6 separate regions of the Homo sapiens genome follow, and all the other regions are linked to region 1. Evidence: promoter capture Hi-C in 16 types of primary human blood cells and fetal thymus (Javierre and others, 2016). All regions are on one chromosome and are shown on one strand. The core of a region is centred on a gene start or on the middle of the fragment in contact, and the rest is flanking DNA. Distances in the headings are between cores, read along the strand shown.

Region 1 (3,771 bases), core at 799-3,298:
GAGACGTTTTTAAAATTAAGATCATATTGCACATTGGCTTTTTTTTTTTTATACGGAGTCTCGCTCTGCTGCCCAGGCTGGAGTGCAGTGGTGCAATCTCGGCTCACTGCCAGCTCCGTCTCCTGGGTTCACACCATTCTCCCGCCTCAGGCTCCTGAGTAGCTGGGACTACAGGTGCCTGCCACCAAACCTGGCTAATTTTGTTTTTGTATTTTTAGTAGAGACGGGGTTTCACCGTGTTAGCCAGGATGGTCTCGATCTCCTGACCTCGTGATCCACCCGCATCTGCCTCCCAAAGTGCTGGGATTACAGGCGTGAGCCACCGCGCTAGGCTGCATATTGGCTTTTTAAAATTTCACTTATCACTTAACATTATATGATATGCAATTTAAATGTTCTTAAATATTCCTGAAAAACAAGTTTATGGTTGCACAGGGTTTATTTTCTACCAAAACCAAATTTGACTATCCTCCTCCTAGTGTTAGATATTATGTTCAACTTTTCACCATAAAAAACAATGCATAACTTGCAAAAACCAAAAAAGAATTATTGGCTGCAATATTCAAATGAAATGATAAAAATCAAAATCAATACATGTTGAAGTAAATGTCTACAAAATACACTATTATATCAAATTAACTGTTAAATTTAATTCACTATTATTATTTTTTTAAGACAGAGTCTCACTATCGCCCAGGCTGGAGCGCAGTGTTGCCATCTCTGCTCACTGCAACCTCTGCCTCCCAGGTTCAAGCGATTCTCCTGCCTCAGCCTCCCTAGTAGCTGGGATTACAGGCGCCCACCACCACATCTGGCTAATTTTTGTATTTTTAGTAGAGATGGGGTTTCACCCTGTTCGTCAGGCTGGTCTCGATCTCCTGACCTCAGGCAATCTGCCCACCTCGGCCTCCCAAAGTGCAGGGATTAAAGGCGTGAGCCACCGCGCCCGGCCTGTTAAATTTAATTCATAAAATTGTTTTGTTACATTTGAAAGCAATTTGTGAGTTGAATGCTTACTCATCAGGAGCATTCCTGAAAACGGACAGGACAGTGAGTTGTAAGAGCCAAACGTGAATTACAAATTGAGACAGCCAAATTGCAAGAGCCAAGTTAATTTTTAAAAACACTTTCTGTATCTTACGGCACAACAAAACACTTTTACTACAAAACATGTATTGTATAACGGATGTGGCTGCGTTTGACAGTTTGAGATGACACTGAGGAGTGTGAAAGAGAGCCTGGACCTTCAAAGCTTGCAAACGGCCCGGGCTATTTCTCCACCTCTTCGCTACTCAAAGCGCTGGCATCGTTTCCTGGGAACCTGTGAGAAATGCCGAGTCTCGGACCCATCCAGAGCGCCCGAATGGAAACCTAGGCGTTACGAGGCCCCAGGTTCAGCGTCTCACGGGTCCTGCACCACCTGGGACGCCCCGCAAGCAGCGGGCATGCCGGGCCCCCAGAAGACTCCGAAAGCCACCCATTCCCTAAACGGGGAGGGCCTCGTCCGCGCGTCCCAGCGCCCTCCCCGGAAGCCCCGCCGCTCCCACACCCAGGATGGGGCCACATGGGCACTAAAAGGCGGGCAGGAGCGCCCAGTCTCGAGATGGCTGGCTCGCCTTTCCAGTCCGGGCCCTCGGGGTGCCCGTGTGAAAAGATGTGACACTGAAGCCTGGGGAAGAAGTTTGAACCTCTCACTAATTCACGTAACGGGAGCCGCCGGCAGCGCTGACGGCTGCACCTCCCCTCCCACGCGGACACTACCTGCAGGATCGGACGACCCCCAGAACTGTTTGCCAACAAAGACATGCAGGGGGCGGAGCCTGAGCGTCAGATACCGTGAGCGGCGTGCAGAGGGCGGAGCCTAGGAGTCAGATACCGCGAGAAGTAGTCTCCCGAAGAGGTTCGGACAAGCGCAGGCGCACTACAATTCCCGCCCTGGCCGCGAAGGTGGCACCCGCAGCGGGAGGCGGGGCCGGGCCTTCGGGACAAAGATCGCGAGATTTAATGGCGAGTCACAGCTACTTCTTCCTGGCAGAGACCGGAAGTGCGGTCCGCGGAGCGTCTCTGGCGCTTACCCTGCTTTGGGCCTGCGTTGCTGCTGCTGCTCCTCCGCTCCCCCGTCGTATCGCCTGCCCTGGATCGAAGTGATGGGGGATGCCAAGGAGGCCGGAGCCGAGGGTCCGCCGGCCGGGGCCGCCGCTCGAGGAGGGCTCAGCCTCCTGTCCCAGGGAGAATCCGAGGAATCTTCTGCACAGGTGAGTCCTCCGCGGAGGGGGACCTGCCAGGGATGTGGGAGCGGAGGACCCGCTCCACCGGGGAGGGATGCCACGGTTCCCGGCAGATTCTGGAGGCTTCTCCATGTTTCCCTGACACCCCCAAAACAGGGAGTTGAAGTCCATGCTCCAGTCGGCAGGTATTCGTATTAAAAGCAGTTCTGGTAGCCGACAGGTGAATTAGATACGATCTTTCCTCTCAAGGAGGGTACATGTAAATATGTCGTTCCAAAACGTGGCACAGTCGTGCAAAGCAGGAGGGAAGAAACGGTGCCAGGTAGTGACTCGCCGAGAATGAGACCGAACTAATTCACAAAGGGTGTAAAATGTTTGCCATGCAGAAGAGGTACTGCGTGAAAGGTTAGAATATTGAACCCAGACGCCGAACTTGCTTTGGGAGTGTGCAAGTGCAGGCTGTGAGGAACGAACCCCCAATGCCTTTCTATGAAGTTAGAGACTCAAGAGTATTTGAACCATGCATGCATGCATGAACCGATGCATCGATTACTAAATATTTGCATTAAAACAAAAAGCCCAAATGTTCTACCAGACTATTTTATGAATGATGTGTTATTAAAATTAAAATACATCTTTGGCCGGGCGCGGTGGCTCACGCCTGTAATCCTAGCACTTTGGGAGGCCGAGGTGGGTGGATCACCTGAGGTCGGGGAGTTCGAGACCAGCCTGGCCAACATGGCAAAACCCTGTCTCTACTAAAAATACAAAAATTAGCCGGACGTGGTAGTGCACGCCTGTAATTCCAGCTACTAGGGAGGCTGAGGCAGGAGAATGGCGTAAACCCCAGAAGCCGAGGTTGCAGTGAGCCATGATTGCTCCACTGCACCCTAGCCTGGGCGACAAAGCAAGACTGCGTCTCAAAAAAAAAAAAAAAAAGAATTAAAATACATCTTTAATACTGAAAATAGGCTTTACTAAAGTTTGCATCTAGTTAACATGATACCATTGAGTCTCCTTGGTTTCTGCTTCTCCACTTTACATGAATACATTTTAAAAGAGATGTGGGTGGTCCATTTTCTAGCTGATAACCATAACCATCATACTCCTTGACTCATCTTTTTTCTTTGAAGTTGGTGTAAAAGAACTAAGTAAATGTTACCATTTATGCTCAAATTTATTAAGTGCTGTTAGTAACATGTGGCATACGTTCCTTGTGAAGCCTGGTGTGACAGGTTCTTGTTTTCTTTTTATAAAGGTGAGATTTTTCGTTCTTAGTAATTTTCATTAAAGTTTCACCCAATGTGTTAATTAGGGATCAGCTTTATTTCTTGGAGGCAATGAAGTGAAGAGCCGAGCTGTGGTGAAATACTCTTCTGCCCCTCCTCGAACAGCATTTGCACGCCTTGAAGAGAAAACAGACTTGAAACTCCCACCTGCCAACTGGTTACGAGAGAGTGCCAAACTAGGGCCAGCAGGAACTACCATTCTTGGCAACAGCAAGAAAAGCAAGCCATTTTCAAGGTAAATATTAATCAGTGGC
Region 2 (3,771 bases), core at 723-3,222, 2.8 Mb before region 1:
GTGGTTCTTAGGGTTACTGAGATTGATGATTCTTCTAGGTCTACCCGCTTTCAGCGGATTTCATAATTGCTTTTAACCTCACAATACCAGGAACAGAGTAATCTTGGGGAAATAAACACTAGATATTGTCAGATTAGTTAAAGATATAGTAATGTTTGAGTATCTGGCTCACATTTTAGGATACCTTTATTACGTTTTTATAAAAATTCAATAAGAAGATCAGACTGGTGACTTGAAAATGACATTGATGTTGAGTTTTAAAAAAAAGGAGCCAATTGGCTTATAAATTTTATATGGACCTGTATTTTGTAGGAGGAGTTGTTGAAATGGGTGTAAACAATACCTCACTGGAGAGTAAAATAGGAAAGTTCATTTTCACAGGCCCGTGAATTTTTGGCGGCCAAGGGGACAAACATTTATTAAATGTCTACTAAGGTATAAATAACATGTTTTAGACCATCTCAGCAACTAGAAGTGAGATTTTTGCAGAGGTTGTGAATAAGTCGTGCTGGCAAAGCAAAGGTGAAACAGTTCGAGGTAATTTTTTTTTTTTTTTAAACAGAGTCTAGCTCTGTCGCCCAGGCTAGAGTGCAGTGGCGCGATCTTGGTTCATTGCAACCTCTGCCTGCTGGGTTCCAGTGATTCTCGTGCCTCAGCCTCCCGAGTAGCTGGGGCTACAGGCATGCACTACCATTCCTGGCTAATTTTTGTATTTTTAGTAGAGATGGGGTTTTGCCATGTTGCCCAGGCTGGTCTCAAACTCCTGGCCTCAAGTGATCCACCCACCTGGGCCTTCCACAGTGCCTGGATTACAGGCGTGAGCCACTGTGCCTGGCCATCCAAGGTATCTTTAAAGGTGAAATTCTTTTTGTAACTAGAGTTTCAGAAAGCTTAGCTCTATAAATTAGTAAAGAAGGGAAAAGATGGGCAAAAGTAGTGAGGGGTGGAGTTTTACTTGCCATTGCTGTGATTAAGAAAATCTGGGCTTCGGCAGCTAGACTGTTAGCAATTTCTGTTACCAATTACAGAACCCAATTGCTGAGTTGGTAGAATACTATGAAAGAAACTAGAGGAGAAAGCCTTCTTCTAAAGATACTGGGGATGGCAGAGGTGGAATCTCAGATTTTCTAAGATGTCTGAGTGTCCTTTTGAGGATGTCATTCATTATAGATATCAGGGTATTTAGACTCAGAGTTGTCTGTCACCTTGCTGTTTCTGCTCACTTATTCCCGGATGAATACAATTCCCCTTAAGGACAATTAACATGTTTGGAACAGGAATCTGGATCAAAGTGAATTGAAAGCTGTCTTAGGAACAGCATGGGAAAATTTAGCTGAGGCTGAAATTGGAAGTAGGTGCTGGGTACTTCCTGCAGCGTATGCGGTAGTCAGAAGACCTAATAGGTAAGGCAAGAACCTCATGCATTGCCCAGGGCTCTAAGTGACAGCACTGAAAGAACAGCCAGTAAGGTGAGGTGGGTCAAGTAGCCCTACCCTGAGTTCAAAGCAGAATGACTATTCCAGCATGAAGCATTACTACCAACATCATTGCTTCTCTGAGGATCAGAAGGGACAGAGTGATGACAACTGAAGCTGAACTTATTCAGTGACAATGCCTATGTGACTTAACCAATCTAATATAATTGTGATTTAAATCAACTTTAACAACAAATCTTTAATAGGAGTGATCTGTGCCCCTTCAGGTTATATGTTTGTATGTGAGGAAAGTTGGCCTCATCTCCACTGGGGATGAGGATTGCTTTTTGGCTCATTTATTGCCCCCTATAATTAATGGCAATGACACCAAAGACCAGGTTAGTCCAAACATGAGTACTTGTACCCAACAGAGTGATAAAAGTTTGAATCCCTTTTCTCTGCAAAGTTCCTTAGCATACTCAATTTTTTCCTTAAAGCAGCTGAGGTTTAGGTAAAGGGAGAGGCAAAAGGCTGCACAAAGGGGCAGAGTCACTCAGTGCCAGGAAGCAAGATTTACTTTAAGATTCAGGCTGGGCATGGTGGCTCATACCTGTAGTTCCATCACTTTGGGAGGCTGAGCCAGGCAGATTGCTTGAACCCAGGAGTTGGAGACCAGCCTGTGCAACATGGTGAAACCTCATCTCTCCAAAAATACAAAAATTAGCCGGCATGGTGGTGTGTGCCTGTGGTCCCAGCTAGGAGGATCTCTTAAGCCCAGGTGGAGGTTGTGGTAAGCCAAGATCGTTCCACAGCACTTCAGCCTGAGTGACACAGTGAAACCGTGTCTGAAAAAAAAAAAAAAAAAAAAAAAAAAAGCAGCAAGCAACTGCCTGCTCAGGCACACAAAATGAACTGCTTTACCTCTGCCCAAGCTGTATATCTTCATTGATAACACCACTTATTTGAGCTTTGGGCACTCCATGGCACAGTAGCCACAACCACATTGCCTATCAGCTGGGGTAAATAGGGATTGCTGTCCCTTTGTCCTGATAACATTCCTTCCTCTTCCCACTCAAAGAAGCAACAACCAAGTTGCCATTTAGGCACCTTGTTTCAATCCTGCCTCTTACCACTCAGCCAATATAAATTTAACAGATAGCATGCTGGTGGACTTTTACCCTTCACCTACCTACGACTTGGACAAAAGCATTTGCTTCTAGGTCTTGGGTAGTTTTGAATCTTCTAGCTTGGCCCTCAGGACCTTTTGTTCTTTCTTTTCTAGAAAGCAACTGCATTCTGTCTTCATCATCATCATCACCAAAACTGTCATGAACTATATAAGCTCTGAGATTTTACCCTATATACTTAGCTTACTCACAAGCTAATCAGCTAGAAGCTGTTACTCTTTCATGATTAGTGGCAGAAGATAAAAGACTCCTGGGTCAGAGACTAAGGACTTTATTACTCACAGCAAAGCAATAACCACAGCTTCATGTCGGCTTTTTCTATTTCCCATTCCTTTACTCCCACAGTGATGACACACGGGGCCAGTGATGGGTACCTATACACTCAGGGAGTTGTACTGCAAAACAGGAACACTGTTTTTTTGCAAGATCCACTGCGTTTGTAGCAAACAGAAGCAAGCTTGCTTTCTGTCTGGAGGAAGACATGATTTCATTTCTGAAAATTGCTCACTGCACTTCATCTTTCAAGATTGCTGATTGAAACATAATCCTAAGAAATAACTTAGGTAAAGAGCAGTCAGCATTTTATTATTGCCATACTATGGGCAAAGGGACACTAAGGGCAAAGGGACACCAAGGGCACATGGAAAATTGCTTCAATCAGCAGGTATAATCTTTAATGGAGGGGAATTTGGCAATATCTAACAAAACTACATATGCATTGGCCTTTTGACTCTGCTCCTATTTCTTAAGATTTTAACCTGAAGATATGGGTTAAGTAATACAGAAATATAAACACTCAATATTTTTTATTTCAGAATCATTTTAAAATGTTGGAAACCTAAATGTCCAGACATAGGAGAGTGGTTGAATTAAATATTGTACGTCCACACAATAGAGTACTATGCTGCCACAAAAAAGAATGAAGATTTCTATGAAGTGATACAGAGTGATTTTCAGGATATACTTTATGAAGGGGAAAAAAAAGTAAAGTGAAAAAAATTTATGTAATGCTACCTTTGTATAAAAAGGAAAGGGAAGGTTAAATACACATGCCTATTTTGTTTTGTTTTTGAGATAGGATCTCGCTCTGTTGCCAAGGCTGGAGTGCAGTGGCACAATCACAGCTCATTGCAGCCTTGACTTTCAGGCTCAAGTGATCCTCCCACTTT
Region 3 (3,771 bases), core at 856-3,355, 2.5 Mb after region 1:
GTTGGGCCGCGCGGCCCGGGGAGCGGAGCGCTGCGCTTCTCTGCGAGCACCCCGGGGCCTTTAGGCGCCCCCGTTTCCTCGTCAGTGGGGGGCGCGGTGCCGCTTCTCCGCGGGCTAAACTGCTGAGGAAGGGGCGAGTTCCTGCGGCCCCTGCCTGTCCCGGCCACGCCCCACCTCCGCCCCGCCGCGTTGCGCGTTCCCGCGGGGCCCCGGGCACCCCTGGGGCCCCGGGGATCTCTGACGCCCCCTTCCCTCCAACCCCCGCTGCGATCCCACAGGTGGGGTGAACAGCGCCCCTGCTGTCCCACGGGGCGTCTTCGCGGGTGATGCCCACACTCTCAGCCTGAAGAGCAGGACCTGTCCGCGGGTGGGGCCCACCCCCAGGCTTCCGGTGCCCGCGCGGCCTCCAGGGCGCCTCCCCCGGGCGCATCCTCCGGGCCTGGCAGGGAGCGCAGCCTGGGAGTCAGGGGCGACTGGAGCCCACCTGCTCAGCGCCCACCGCGGCGGCCCTGCCCTTTCCCCCGGGAGCAGCAGGGACAGCCTTGGAGCAGCAGCTCCCGCAGGGGGAGGAATGGCGCAGTGGCCCGAGGCTCTGGAGCTGGCCCCCTGCTCGCCCGGGGCTACCTCGGGGAAGCGCAGAATTCGCACCTTTCTTCTCCAGCTCCACGCACCCCTCATGGAACCTTAGCGAGGCCCAGGGCAGGGGATGCTGCCAGGCCGCTGCCAGGCTCTGACGCGGTTGCGGATGCCTCGCCCGGTCTCTCCGGAGGTGGAGGAGTGGCACCCCTGGCTGTGCACTGCGGTGCACCGGTGTCTGCTCAGGGCATTCTCCACCTTGCCCTCCATCCCCTCAGGGTCAAGTGAGGAGGGAGACAAATATCCCACCTTCAGAAACAGCCCTGAGAAACGTTTATTTCCAGGGGACAGTGCGATTAGACCTCTCCCGGCGCGGTGTATTTCTGTGCTTAATATTATTATTTATACATCAATATTGACATCCAGCGTCCATTGATACGTGGCATGCGTAGGTGCTAAGAAGCGCCAGCTACATAGCATGCTTTATTTATGTGCGGTAAATATTTAAAGACTCCCATGTGTTTCGATTGGAAAGTGCGTATTACTGGACAATTTCGTTTCAAAGCTTTCTCTCTGATGTAAGGTTTATTAAGATGTATGAGGTGGCTGCGGTGGCCTGATTGAGAGCCCATGAAAGTCCTGAGAAATAAAATTCTGCTGCTGCGGCCCAGGGAGTCGGCCTTCCACAGTCCCGTTTAGGAGCCGGGGCTCTTCTCCGTTATTAAGACGTGGTAGTTTGCTCTGCATGAATTACCAGCTGTTTGGTATTGCCTGAGAGGGACGGGGTGGCTAGTTTGAAAAGTCAGTTTGCAGGTTTTCCACGATGGCAGAGGTGCCACCTGTGTCACCAGCCGGCGGGGCTGGGAGTTCATCTAGCCCGGGCTATGGACAAGGCCGTGTGCGTCCAGACGGGGCCGCCAGAGGGCGCGCGTCTGCGGCCGCGGGAGGCCCAGCGGGGCCTGAGAAGTGGGCGGAGCCAGCCCCGGCCGGAGGAGCTTCTTGCTTGCAGGTGTCAGCGGCAGCAATTTCAGGCAGGGTGGCCAGGCTGCTCCCCGAGGACAGCATCTTGGAGGAATTGCTTTCATTTCCTCCCAGCTAGTCCCTCTGCCCAGCACTTGCCGGCAGCTTCTTCCATGAGGGCGGAGTTCTGTCTGCAGCCCCAAGGGGCGTTCTTTGAGGCTGTAACTAGCATCCAGGGAGAGATGGCTCACATCAGTGGAGGGTGCGAGGTGGAATCAGGTCGCTCATGACAGAGGCTGCATTCAAGCCAGAGCCCCACTGCTTTGCTGTGGGTTGAATTGCATCTCCCCTCCCACCCCTCTAAAGATATGTCCGAGTCCTAAGCCAGCACCTCAGAACGGGACCTTGTTTTGAGCAGGTTGTTTGCAAATTTAATTAGTTACGATGAGGTCATACGGGAGTAGAGTGGGTCCCTGGGTCCTTAACCCAATGGCTGGTGCCCTGATAAAAAGACAGCCCTGCAAAGACACAGAGACACACAGGGAGAACGCTGTGTGACGGTGGAGGAAGAGACTGGAGTCGTGTGGCCACAAGACAGGGAGCTCCTGGTGCCACCAGGAGCTGGAAGAGGCAGGAAGCGTCCTCTCCTAGAGGCCTCAGAGGAAGCAAGGCCCTGCTGACGCCTTGGTTTTGGACTTCTATCTCCTAAGCTGTGAGACAATGAATTTCTGTTTTAAGCCACCCAGTTTGTGGGACTTAGTTATGGTGCCCCAGGAGACAGGCACAACAAACGGGGAAAGAAAACGCAGCCACTGCCTGAGAAGGAGGCTGTGTGTCGGCTGTGGAGACACCAGCGCAGCTTCCCAGGAATTGGTTAGATCTTGGCCTCCTTTCCGTGCAGTGGTGGAAATAAGAGGAATGGAAGGCTGCTGCCTTGGGAGTGACGGCTCTGGGATTGGCCCCACCGGGCGGTGGGTGGATGGGGCAGACTAGGAGCCCTTCCTGGGAGGGTCACAGAATGAGCTAGCCAGAGTGACCCTTCTCTCTATTCACGGTCTTCAGTGTTGTTTCCTCCAAGCAGGGACAGAGTTGTTCGGTTGGAGAGTGGGAAGACTTATTTCATTCTTTTAAAATTCAGCCTGGAATCTGGGAGCAAGGAAACTTACGCATTAATGCAGCATGTCAGGAGAGCTGCCAGAATGTGCAGCCCCACAGCTGATTTCCACAACTTATCTTGGCAAAAATACTTCCAACCTGTCCCAGGATTCTGTCATGGAATCCCTGCTATATGAAAGCACCTGAGGAGAAGGATGCAGGGCCCGGAACGCTTCCCATTGCCCAGAGGCTGGTGGTTCTACCTGTCCAGAGACTTGTCCCCACCCCACGTAACTCAACAGAGAGATGATCAGACTCGTGTCTTCCCTAGGGGTGGAGGCCGTTGGAACTGTGTTCATTCTGCTAGAAATGCGGGCGAGGCTGCGGTCACCCCTGCTAGGCAGAGCCTTGGCTCCATGCTCCATGAGGACCAAGGAAGAAGCTTCTCAGGCCCCTTCTTTCTCCACATTCCAGCAGATCTTCGCCCCCTGCAAACACCCCCCACCTCTTCTAGGAGCCTGCAGTGGGGACTGGCTGCCAATTTCTGATCGGATGCAGACTATTCACCACCAACCATCCCCCAGGCAGGGCAGGTTTGACATTCACTTGGAAGACAAAGCAAGGTAGTCAGGTGTGCTGCCCCTAGACCTCGAGGAGGGACGTGGACATTATCTCACTTTCCGCGGAGGGGGCAGCAGTGGAAGCCACTGTGGTGGAGGAGAGTGGCCACCTGCTGCCCAGGCCCCCACCTAAAATTGCAGTATAATTATGGACTTGCGGGTCTTTGTACAGTTCCCGGCTTCCGGTAAATATTAATGGGTTGCCTTTTATTCATTTAGCTAATGTTTTTGAAAGATGGCCTCAAACAAAAAGATCATATCTGTATGTTGTGCTTTAATTTATTTTCACCTTTTTTTCTCCTTTGGAGACCCCTAGTGTATCATCACTTTGTTTACCACAAATTAAACCGGGGCTGATTGTTTACCAGACTGTGGGCCTCTGTGCATTGCTCCACACTCTCCCTTTTTTTTTTAATAATCACAACCTGGGATTCATTTGCGAGAGGCCCTAATCTGCATGAGAATTATACAATTAACTTTTGATTAACCACCTAGTTCTTTTGGAAACCATGGTGTATAG
Region 4 (3,771 bases), core at 392-2,891, 2.5 Mb after region 1:
ATTCATAAGTCAATGTGAAAGGCCTTTACAGCTTGTAAATGTACAAAAGCAAATGTGAGTGTGTATTTTATTTTATTTTATTTTATTTTATTTTATTTTATTTTATATGACAGGGTCTTGCTCTGTGACCCAGGCTGGAGTGCAATGCTGTAATCAGAGTTTACCGCAGCCACAAACTACAAGGCTCAAGTGATCTTCCCATCTGAGCCTCCTCAGTAGCTGGGTCTATAAGTGCATGCCACCACAGCTGGCAAAGTTAATTTTTTTTTTTTTTTGTAGAAATGGGAGTCTGGCTATGTTGCCCAAGCTGGTTTTAAACTCCTGGCCTCAAGTGATCCTCCAGCTTTGGCCTCCCAAAGTGCTGGGATTCCAGGCATGAGCCACCATGCCCGGCCAATGTGTTCCAGTTATTATAATTATGGTGAGACTGCCATGCTTCCTAGTCCTTGGGTGCCACTGTGGCTGGCTGGATGAGCCCCTTTCAAATGCTTCCTAGCAACCATCCCTTCTGGAAGTCCGAGGTGGGTAACTTGAGCTCATGTTTAAGTCAGATTTATTTTACTTTAAGTTGTCCCCTTTTAGGGCTAATTTAGCAACACGCATGCCCTTTCTCAAGATTCTTATCAGATGGTGGTGAACTTTTAACGAATATAATGAAAAACATTTCCCCATCCTAGAACACGGGGGAAGGCAAAATGCAGCTTGACCCCGTCAACTTCTTTCATCTGGTCTCTGTAATCAGTTTTATGAAAAGCACATGGCTGCCCTGCTCTATCTTGATAAAGAACAGTTTTTCTGTTCCATTAAAAAAAATCGTTGGAGAGCTGTTTTTGATGTTGAGAGAAGACGAGGTGCAGCTGAGGGAGATGGGGAGGAGCCCTCTCCTCTGCGCCCTGTTTCGGGGGCAGCGAGCCCAGTGGGTTCTGCCTTTCAGGTCTGTTCCTTCATTACGGCAGCTGCACAGGAGGTCGCTGTCTGGGGACAGTCTCGGGTTCCTCCCCACCAGGGCTTTGTAGAGATTCACGCCTCAAGCCCAAGTGTATCCGGGAGCAGGGGCGAGGCAGCTGCAGCTGCCTCAAATGAAAATGAAAGAGGCATTTGTTCTCATCAGTATTGCTTAGAAGAGAAGAGGACTGGTCCTGGAGGTGTTTTCAGAGAGTTTTTCCAAACAGGAAAAGTTTTGGGTAATAGGCTGTCTTCCCAGCCAACTCCTAAGAGACCTGGTTGTGGGTCTGTAGTATATCAAAACTGTTTTGACCACAAATATTTATTGTACATCCACGAGGTACCAACCTTGTTCTAAGTGCTTAAACTATGTCAGCGAACAAACGAATAAAGCATCCTCCTCTCCTGTAGCTAGCTCAGACTCAGAAGACAAATGAGGACTGGAATCAGTCAATCATGCAGCAGGTTAGAAGGTGAACGTGGTGTAGAAAGAAGGGACAGCAGAACTGAGCAAGGGATCAAGGATGCCAGGGATGGAGGGGCCACAGGTAGTCTATTTAGAAGGATGGCTGGGAGGAGTCTTATAAGAGAGGTGAGATTTAAGCAAGAACCACTGCCCCCAACAAAAAAACCCAAAAAACAAAGCATCCCAGCTATGTGACAAGAAAAATACTTAGATGTGTGTGCTCATTTCCACCTCATGAGGATTCCAACGTTGAGAAGAGAGAGCTCTGGTGACTGCCAGCCTGTTACACCCAACACATGGATGCTCCTGGACTGGTGAGACCTAAGTGCCTGGCTCTTCAGCCACCCCCTCCCCTTGGCACCCTTCTTTGTCTTGCTTCTGAAGTGCTAGCCTTGCCTTTTTTTTTTTTTTTAACCCTTTCAGGCCAGTTTCTCTGGCCTCTTTCTTGGGTTTCTTTTTTTTCACCAGTTTCTTTGAATGTTGGTTCTCCGAGGTTCTGTTCACCCCACCCATCTATTTCCCTTGGATCATCTTGCCCACACCACAGCTTTTACAACCACTGGTCAGCTGGCAACTTGAGACCATCTCTGAGCTGAATGTCCTTCCTGAGCCCCAGTTCTGTCCCCCCAGGTGCTTTAGGAAGTCTAAAGCTGAACTCATCAAACCTGTTTCCTTTGGGGAATTTTGTTGGTAACAGCTCTGCTTTCCAGCTAATGATGCAATCAGAAAGCCAAGAATCATTTCAGTTGTCCCTTTTCCTTTCCCAGCAATAATCAATATGCAAGGTGCTCACACATTGACAGTGACAGCGAACATTTGCTGAGTGCTCCTGGGTGTTAGGCAGCGCCCCCAGAGCTCTGCAGAAGGCAGGTGGGGACACATGGAAATACCTGGGCAGGGGGAAGTGGAGTGAGCAGCAAAACTAGGACTTGAACCTATGCCCTCAGACTCTGGAGGATGCACCTTTAACCACCCCCATGAGATGAGGTCTTAGAGGTGCCCTGGGGTCAGATCCTGGAGGACTCCTCAGCTCACACTAAAGACTTTGTACTTTATTTCTTAGCAAAGTGAGACCATGAAAGGATCTCAAGTGGGGTAAGAAAGAGAGGGGCACATCATGTGGTTTTTACTTAGAGGATCACTCTAGCTTCAGGGTGGGTGTCAGATGGTGGGAAAGAGGGGACGATGTCATGTTGTAATAGTATTGGCAAGAGACAATGCCGGCTTGGAGTGGAGCAGGGAGGCGAGGGTGGAGAGAAAGAGATGAGATCAGGAGATGTTGAGGAGACACTGTCAAGAATCTGGTGAAGTGCGGTGGAGGTGGCTGCCAGGAACAGGGAGTGACAGGATTGTCACCTGCTCTTGCATCCAATTCAACTGCTTAGGAAAACAATGCCTTATTATAAAAGTCCTACATCTTTATTGTAGAATACAAAATGTAGAAAGAAAAACAAGAACAACATGTCTAGGTCCATTATGCACTGATAACTACTATTAATATTTGGTATTCACACATAGAGTGATATCTATATCTATATTGATATTATATATATATAGTCATGTGTTGCTTAACAACAGGGACACATTCTGAGAATGTATCAGTAGGTGATTTCATTACTGTGCAAACATCACAAGAGTGCACTTTTTTTCCCTTCAACTTTTTTTTTTTTTTCTTTTGGAGATAGAGTCTCACTCTGCCTCCAGGCTGGAGTGCAGTGGCACGATCTCAGCTCACTGCAACCTCCACTTCCTGGGTTCAAGTGATTCTCATGCCTCAGCCTCCCCAGTAGCTGGGACTACAGGCGTGCACCACCACGCCCAGCTAATTTTTGTATTTTTAGTAGAGATGGGTTTTCACCATGTTGGCCAGGATGGTCTCGAGCTCCTGGCCTCAGGTGTTCTGCCCACCTCGGCCTCCCAAAGTGCTAGGATTACAGGCATGAGCCACCGTATCCGGCCCCTTTCAACTTTTATTTTAAGTTCTGGAGTATATGTGCAGTATGTACAGGTTTGTTACATGGGTTAACGTGTGTCATGGTGATTTGCTGCACAGATCAACGCATCACCTAGGTATTAAGCCTGGCATCCATTAGTTCTTCTTCCGGATGCTCTCCCTGTCCCTATAGAGTGCACTTTCACAAACCTAGATGGCATTGCCTACTGCACACCTAGGCCGTGTAATCTAGCCATGGCTCTAGGCTGCAAACTTGTACAACATGCGACTGTACTGACTACTGTAGGCAGTTGTAACAGAATAAGTATATGTGTATCTAACCATATGTAAACAGAGAAAAATTATAATAAAAATATGGTATAAATGGTAATAAAAGATAACATTAATATGGTATAAAAGAGAAAAA
Region 5 (3,771 bases), core at 853-3,352, 2.4 Mb after region 1:
CTCTCTCTCTTTCCTTCTTTCTTTCTTTCTTTCTTTCTTTCTTTCTTTCTTTCTTTCTTTCTTTCTTTCTTTCTTTCTTCTTTCTTTTTAGCTAAATGTGTTTATCTTTATGTGGCTGTTTGGTAAGTAGCTTCCATGGGCTACAATGAGAAGCACAGCAACTCTTCCATTTTAACATCAGCCATGAAATCAAACAAGATTCCTTTTCAGCAGTTTAATCTCAAAGCTTCCCAAAGCTTCTCAATAACTAACTAACTAACTAACTAACTAAATAAATAAATAAATAAAAAAGTCTCCCAAAGCATCGCAGTACAAACAACCGCTCGATTTATACAACCCAGGAAGATCAAACCCTGGGTGCCTGGCATGGTTCTAATCCAGTACAACCATCACCACGTCAATTCCCACTTTTACTGAGATGGAGATTCAAGTGGCAACATTTCCTCGACTATTAATGGTTTAAGAAAAGCATCTTACAGTGTGTTGTTTCCAGAAACAGCTATGCCCCCTGGAAGGAAAGTACGTCTTAACAACACAAAATAGTGGTCAAAACCAATTACTTAACACTGGGACAATCTATTATTATAAAGTCAGTAAGACAGGCAGGTATAATAGCAACAGCTTTCCTCACCATAAGGCAGCTGCCCGGTTTCTACATATCTTCTGCTTTCCAGAGTAAAGATGTGCATTTGACATTTCCATACCTATTATATGCAGGACACGCGATCCCGAGAAACTGTCAGAGCGTTTTTCTTGTACCCCAGACCAGCCTTCTGTTCCTTGGATATTAAAACCCCAGGAAGTTGCCTGGCTTATTTATACCACTATCCCTCTCACAGCAGACAGACAGATGTAGCACACAGCAACACAGTCACAAATAGTAAAAATAACAAATAGTAAAAATAACAAAGGGTTATGATTTGTGAGACAAAGGCTATGTTTTCAAATGAACGATATTCATTGTAAAAATTTTGTTGAAAACAAAGTACTCGTACCTTCTAAATAGAAATAATAAATAAATAAAACTAATATAGATTTGAATCTAATTGACATATATAGATTGAAGACTGCAACCAACAGTTGTAGAACACACATTCTTTTCAAACACATAATACACAGATTAGTAAACATTGCAGCCATATCTGATCACAAAGCAAATGCCAACACATTTCAACAACTAGAAGCTATTGAAATGTCCATCCAGAACGATAAAATTGTGTATAATTATGTGTATTATTTATTTTTCTTCCTTTCTTTTTTTTCAGAGACAAGGTCTTGCTCTGTTGCCAAGGTTGGAGTGCATTGGCACAATCATAGACCACTGCAACCTCAAACTCCCGGGCTCAAGTGATCCTCCCACCTCAGCCTCTGAGTGGCTGGGACCACAAATACACACCATCATGACTGGCTAATTTTTAAATTTTTTGAAGAGATGGAGTCTCACTGTGTTGCCCAGGCTGGTCTTGAGCCCTGGGCCTCAAGTGATCCTCCTATCCTTGGCCTTCCAAAGTGTTGGGATGACAGGCATATGCCACTGCACCAGGCAGGTATATTATTTCAATCAAATAGTTAATGTAAACAAATGACAACTACAATCAATATTTTATGATTCTCATAAGGACTAGAGACATCGGACATAATTACATACTTTATTATTTAATTTTTGTGAAGTTTAGTAATGTCAGACAAAATATAGTGTTCAAAGATGCATGTTTAAAAATAAAACTCAGGCTGGGCACAGTGGCTCACATCTGTAATCCCAGCAGTTTGGGAGGCTGAGGCAGGAGGATCACTTGAGGTCAGGAGTTTGAGACCAGCCTGGCCAACATGGTGAAACCCCGTCTCTACTAAAAATACAAAAATTAGCCAGCTGTGGTGGCGGGCATCTGTAGTCCCAGCTACTGGGAAGGCTGATGTTCTGTGCAGGAAATGCATGAGGGGAGAAGAAATGGCACACACACAATACTTTAAAGGGTAAACAAGCTTTACCCCATGTAAATGGCAATGCAGATATAATAAGGAAATGACATAATAAGCAAATGATATAATAAGAAAATCAATATAATAAGGATATTGTTACAATAAGCAAATTGCAATGGGAAGAGAAGGGAAAAAGATACTTACACTCACCAGACTATGGAGGATTCACCACCAAACTGGGAAGCAACATCTTGGGATCCAGAGTCGACCACTTGTCCATGCAGACAAGGAGGGGTCTCATGAAGCTTCTGCGTGGTCTGAGACCCTAGCTCTTTTTGTAACGAGTTGTTTGGCATGAGGTCCAGTTACGAGGGCCCTTCGTGACGGGGCTCAAGGAACACAAAAAGGTCAACTTGTTTTTGCAATTATCTATTGTTTTTCAATAACTAACGTATAGGAATAGATTGAAATAGGGATTTCTTTGAAACAGTGCTGGATGAACGCCTTAAGGGGCTCACACAACCTGTTCCGAGACTTGGTGACCATTGTTTCTGTCCACAACCAAATGAGTTCACATTTAATATTTAACTATTCCTCCACAAGGCTGAGGCAGGAGAACTGCTTGAACCCAGGAGGAAGAAGTTTCAGTGAGCCAAGATCGTGCCACTGCACTCCAGCCTGGGTGACAGAGTGAGACTCAAATAATAATAATAATAATTTAAAAATATTTAAGGTCTGGCATGGTGGCTCACGCCTGTAATCCCAACACTTTGGGAGGCCAAGGTGGGTGTATCACGAGGTTAGGAGATCGAGACCATCCTGGCTAACATGGTGAAAACCCGTCTCTACTAAAAATACAAAAATTAGCCGGGCATGGTGGCGTGCGCCTGTAGTCCCAGCTACTCGGGAGGCTGAGGCAGGAGAACGGCGTGAATCCGGGAGGCGGAGCTTGCAGTGAGCGGAGATTGCACCACTGTACTCCAGCCTGGGTGACAGAGCGAGACTCCATCTCAAAAAATAAATAAATAAATTTAAAAATAAAAATAAAACTCAAAGTATTTTTATAATGTTATAAAAGCCACAGTGACAGACTCTGTGATGAGAGAAAGAAGTCGCGGTTAGAAGACAGGATGGAAGAAGCCTCTGGAAGAAATGTTCTATTTCATGACTTGGTTTAGTTACGTGAGTGTTTGCTTCCTGATAATTGAAACTATAAGACTCATGCAGAGTTTTACATTCAGCCTTCTCCACAAAGTAAGTTCTTTTAGGACCAGATCACCTCTTTGGCCTGGTTATCTGTACTCAAATCCTTGAATTTGATATTTAAGTCCAATTTCTCATTTTTTGAATGGATCCAAATTATACCACAGTGGCATAAAATTTTTTGAGCTGAAAACATTTTAGAATCAAGAAATGCAGACAGAAGCTTTGTCTGAATTATGCCCTATCCTCACCCCATTATCAGACTACGAAGTTTACAGATAAGCCCCTATCTTCAGCTATTGGCTGCTTTCTTTGTGCTCTTCTGAGAATGGATATTAACAAACAAAATGAATACACTTTGTCTTTTCTCTTGTTAATCTCTTGTTAATCTGGTTTTTGTCATTTATTTTATTTTTTGAGTCAGGGTCTCACTCTGTCACCCAGAGTGGAGTGCAGTGGTGAGATTTCAGCTCACTGCAACCTTAACCTTCTGGGCCCAAGCTCAGCATCCTAAGTAACTGGGACTATAGGTGCACGCCATCATGCTGGGCTAATTTTTGCTTTTTTTTTTTTTTTTTTTTCCAGAGACAGGGATTCACCATATGGCCCAGGCTGGTCTCCATCTTCCAGGCTCAAGCAATCCACCCA
Region 6 (3,771 bases), core at 715-3,214, 2.3 Mb after region 1:
TAGGGTGGGACTGAGAGTCACCTGGGGGAGAGGAGAGAAGGGGCCCAACTTCCCCAGCCCCTAGTATCACTTAGGGTGGGACTGAGAGTCACCTGGGGGAGAGGAGAGAAGGGACCCAACTTCCCCAGCCCCTGGCACCTTCCCTGCCTTTCCCAGTCTTTTACCAGAGTCATAAGATGGTCCTTGGCTCTGGGCAGGCATGTGGCCCTGGGGAGCTCTGGGGTCAGAGGTCAAGGTGCTTTGCATGTCAGGCAGGCTTGACTTTTGCCTGTAGAAAGACTATAGAAAGATGGCAAGCTAGGCCTCTTTTCTGGAAAAGTGCCAACAGCTGATAATTTTAGGAAATAATGTTTTGAATGTGAAGTGTGACTTTTTAGAATAAAAAGACAGGAAGCTCTTAGAAACTGCAAGATTCTAAATCTAAGCAGAAGGCTATATTTTACCCTGTGCTTTTCTATAGCTGTCCTCAAAGCGTAAACCATTCCAAATTATTTTCAACTAGTGTTATATGTGTTCAGCAGAGCTATTTCTGCCTGGGCATTGCCAGTCCCTGAGCAGGAGGGTCTCACAGTGAGGTCTGCAGGACTGTAAGTTTGGGGTCTGACTCCCTGGCCACCCTGTGTGGGCTGTGACTGTCTCTCAGAGCTATACCCGCCCTTTCTCTGCTGGCAGCCCGACAGAGCTGGCTCAACCATCGGAGGTCGCAGGCCACCAGCCCGTGGCCCACCTGGCAGCCTTCCAGGTGAAGGTGAGACAAACAAGGCATGACCTGGGGGCTGCCCGGCTCCCCATCACAAACGCCACAAACACCACAAACACAACCCACCCTGATCAGAGACTAAGCAGAGAAAGCAGGGAGAGGACCTAGAGTTACTCAGTAATGACTCAGGAAGGAGACCCTAAGCTTCTACCACATGCCAGACTCTGTGCCCAGTGCAGCATAAACGTCCTCAGAACCAGCCTGGTCCCAGCCTGGCCGAGCCGGACGTTCCTGGGAAAGGTTACAGGAGGAGCAGGGCCAGGCCCACAGCACTTTTAGAAGCCCATGAAAATGTCTTCATTTCTCTTCAAATCACAAACAAAACGTGCAAAACCCATTCTGGAGTGCATCTTTTCACTGGCGACCAACCCAGTCCTAAGATAACCTTCTTAATAGTTCTATGGAGGAAGCTGCAAAGGCAGAAGTGACTACAACCCACAAAAGTCATGATGGAGCCCTGACGTGTGTGTACACACACACTACATGCACACACACACACACAACACACACACTACACACCCACCGCACATAACGCACACACATACACACTCCACACACACACCACACACTCCACACAAACATATCACACACATACCACACACATACACACCACACACATACCACACACTACACACACACACACACACACACTACACATACACACCAAACCCACATGCACACATTCACACAGCATACACACTACACACATGCACACCACACATACACCACACACACTACACACATGCACCATACACACCACACACACACCACACATTACACACATACACAACCACACACACCACACACACAATACACACACACCACACTCACTACACACACACCCCACACACAGAGCACTCCACGGTCAGCCTTCTACCCCGGAAAACTGCTTGTGCAACAGGCTGGATCTACCAGACGCTCCTCACTGTGCTCGCCTTCCAGCTCTGGGGCAGACTCCGGTGGTGGGACTGAGGGTCAGAGTCCCCAATCCTAGACCCCCACATCCACTTGTCCTCATGGGGCTGGTGCTCATTTCCCTGGGAAGCCTGGGAGAGTGGACCCAGTTCTCCTGTCCTGGGGCTCTTTTAAGTGCACCCACACTTGGCAACACTGGGGCTGGGCCCAGTGCAGGGTTCATAAAATACAGCCCTTGCACTGCCAGGGGCCTGGCACATTCTGCTATTCTTGCTATGTAATGACCCAGCAGCCCCCATCCTGGATGCTGAAATCCTACCCTTGTCGTCATGCCACAGCTGAGACAGTCAGTGTTCACCAAAGCAGGTGCATTCTCTCTCAGGACACTAGTGTTCTCCATGGGAACGCTGAGGAAGAACATCTCTGCCATCCCTGGTGTCGCTGTGAAGCTGCTTTTGCCCTTCCCAGGAGCTGACACTGCAGATGAAGAGACAGCACTGTGATTTCTGGAAGAGACAGCACTGTGATTCCTGGTCCTAATATCTTGGCTTTGTTTGGGTTTTTTTTCCAGATGACCATTCTAGGGTGATTCTGAGCCAACTGGATGGAATTCCCTGTTCAGACTACATCAATGCTTCCTACATAGATGTAAGTGGGCAGAGGTTTCTTGTTCCCCTGGCCCAGCTGGGGCATGAGCAGTAAGCACTTTCTTGTCTGGTGCCCGGAGTGTAAATTGTCACAACCTTTCTGGGCAGTTTGGCCACAAGCACAAAGGGTACGGAACTGCCCGTGCTTTACACACTGGCATCAGCATCTGGGAATTTGAATTCAAGAGACAGAGATGATCACAGAGGATGTTCACTACAGCATTATGTATATTCCTGACCAAATAGAACAGGGAGCATGGGTAGTTAAACAGATTGTGGTAAAACCATGTGCAGTGGACTATTAGAACTTGATTTGTATTAATCTTTAAAAGATCATTTAATATCAATTATAAAATTCCCATTAAAAATACAACATAAAATAAATTGTACATGTTCACCCAATTAGAGGACAGAAATGTCTGCATGTCTGCTTGTGGGTGAGTCTGGGAAAGGTTTGGCAGAAAAACAGACTAGAGAGGGGACGTATGAAGTAGGATTTGTTATTTCTGGAATTGCTGGTGAGTTTTCTTTCCTTCTTAACCTTTTCCTGTGTTTTGCAAATTTTCCATGGTGAATATGTACTGCTTTCCTAACAGCAACACCAACAAATCCTTTCAGCAAAGATAATTCTGAAAAAATATAAATCTGATGTTATTTTTTCTAGGGTTACAAAGAGAAGAATAAATTCATAGCAGCTCAAGGTAAGCTTTTTATTAATTTCTCAACGTATTTTTGGTAACGTGAATAGCTCTTATTTCCTTCTCTGTATGCCAACAAGACCAAGGACTTATACTGGATTTGTGTGTGTGTGTTTACACCTAACAGACACGTTAGATATCCATTCACACAACGGATATGTGTAGTCAGAGAAACACACACTTATTCCCACACCTATATGGTGTGAACACAGGGCACGCAATGGCCCCGGCTGCCATTCCAGCTTGTTAATACTTGCGTCAGATAACCTTGAATTTCTCTCAGCTGGCTGAGCCCTACATGGCTCCCCAAGTTTGGGCGAGGGGTTAGTGGGGTGAATAGCTTTTCAGATCAAGGCCATAACTAAGAATATACTTCAGCTGTGAAAACGTGCCCTTCACCTTGCACAGGGCTACCTTGTGTGTTGAGTACTGAATCCAGCATCACTCCGTTCCACCAGAGGTTGTCATCTGCAGGACCTGGTGTACGTGCGGTTAGATATCAGTGGAGCTGAAACCAGATTCCTCAGACTTCCTCACTCTTAGGCCAGGAGTCTTTAGGGCAATGAGCTCTGAAAGTCAGCGTCCATCAAAATCACCTGGGAAGTTGTTACAAATGCAGAATCTCTAAGAAAAAAGGACACACATGTGCACACGCAGAGGCCATCAGGAATGTGCCCAGCTGGAAACCTCAGGAAACCTGACGATCCTGGCTGAAGCAGATGAAAGCATGTGTTTCTCTCTTGCCAGCAGA

Evidence for each region. The method cuts DNA at HindIII sites, captures the fragments that hold promoters and counts their contacts. A CHiCAGO score of 5 or more calls a contact.
Region 2: a contact is called between a fragment that was not itself captured here and the fragment with the promoter of EDRF1 in region 1, in 1 of 17 cell types (total CD4 T cells). The highest score is 5.0, in total CD4 T cells.
Region 3: a contact is called between a fragment that was not itself captured here and the fragment with the promoter of EDRF1 in region 1, in 4 of 17 cell types (activated CD4 T cells, non-activated CD4 T cells, naive CD8 T cells and 1 more). The highest score is 10.8, in activated CD4 T cells.
Region 4: a contact is called between a fragment that was not itself captured here and the fragment with the promoter of EDRF1 in region 1, in 1 of 17 cell types (activated CD4 T cells). The highest score is 5.3, in activated CD4 T cells.
Region 5: a fragment that was not itself captured here is called in contact with the fragment with the promoter of EDRF1 in region 1 in 1 of 17 cell types (naive CD4 T cells); the score reaches 5.4 in naive CD4 T cells.
Region 6: a fragment that was not itself captured here is called in contact with the fragment with the promoter of EDRF1 in region 1 in 3 of 17 cell types (naive CD4 T cells, non-activated CD4 T cells and naive CD8 T cells); the score reaches 7.1 in naive CD4 T cells.

Annotation. Positions count from the first base shown.
Region 1 is chr10:125,717,661-125,721,431 of GRCh38, forward strand. It overlaps EDRF1 (erythroid differentiation regulatory factor 1), which reads left to right and starts at 2,049. Exons shown (of 25, transcript NM_001202438.2): 1 at 2,049-2,255; 2 at 3,544-3,752. The coding sequence starts at 2,148. EDRF1-DT (EDRF1 divergent transcript) reads right to left here and starts at 1,833. Exons shown (of 5, transcript NR_033847.1): 1 at 1,762-1,833. RefSeq lists enhancers at 1,165-1,274, 1,755-1,834, 1,950-2,932. The HindIII fragment of the contact is 5,171 bases long and covers 1,251-3,771 here.
Region 2 is chr10:122,959,734-122,963,504 of GRCh38, forward strand. All of the region lies in intron 1 of LOC124902519 (a long non-coding RNA gene), which reads left to right. Among named protein-coding and RNA genes, the nearest start is that of C10orf88, 7.4 kb to the left of the region's middle. The HindIII fragment of the contact is 2,169 bases long and covers 889-3,057 here.
Region 3 is chr10:128,210,591-128,214,361 of GRCh38, forward strand. No RefSeq gene overlaps it. Among named protein-coding and RNA genes, the nearest start is that of LINC01163, 73 kb to the right of the region's middle. RefSeq lists silencers at 1-98, 1,428-1,577. The HindIII fragment of the contact is 1,932 bases long and covers 1,140-3,071 here.
Region 4 is chr10:128,186,683-128,190,453 of GRCh38, forward strand. No RefSeq gene overlaps it. Among named protein-coding and RNA genes, the nearest start is that of MKI67, 62 kb to the left of the region's middle. The HindIII fragment of the contact is 5,504 bases long and covers 1-3,771 here.
Region 5 is chr10:128,133,484-128,137,254 of GRCh38, forward strand. No RefSeq gene overlaps it. Among named protein-coding and RNA genes, the nearest start is that of MKI67, 8.9 kb to the left of the region's middle. The HindIII fragment of the contact is 242 bases long and covers 1,982-2,223 here.
Region 6 is chr10:128,058,693-128,062,463 of GRCh38, forward strand. PTPRE (protein tyrosine phosphatase receptor type E) reads left to right here. Exons shown (of 21, transcript NM_006504.6): 8 at 2,247-2,323; 9 at 2,987-3,023. AS-PTPRE (lncRNA antisense to PTPRE protein-coding gene) reads right to left here and starts at 3,733. Exons shown (of 3, transcript NR_136150.1): 1 at 3,435-3,733; 2 at 1,995-2,152. RefSeq lists an enhancer at 3,276-3,771. The HindIII fragment of the contact is 2,124 bases long and covers 903-3,026 here.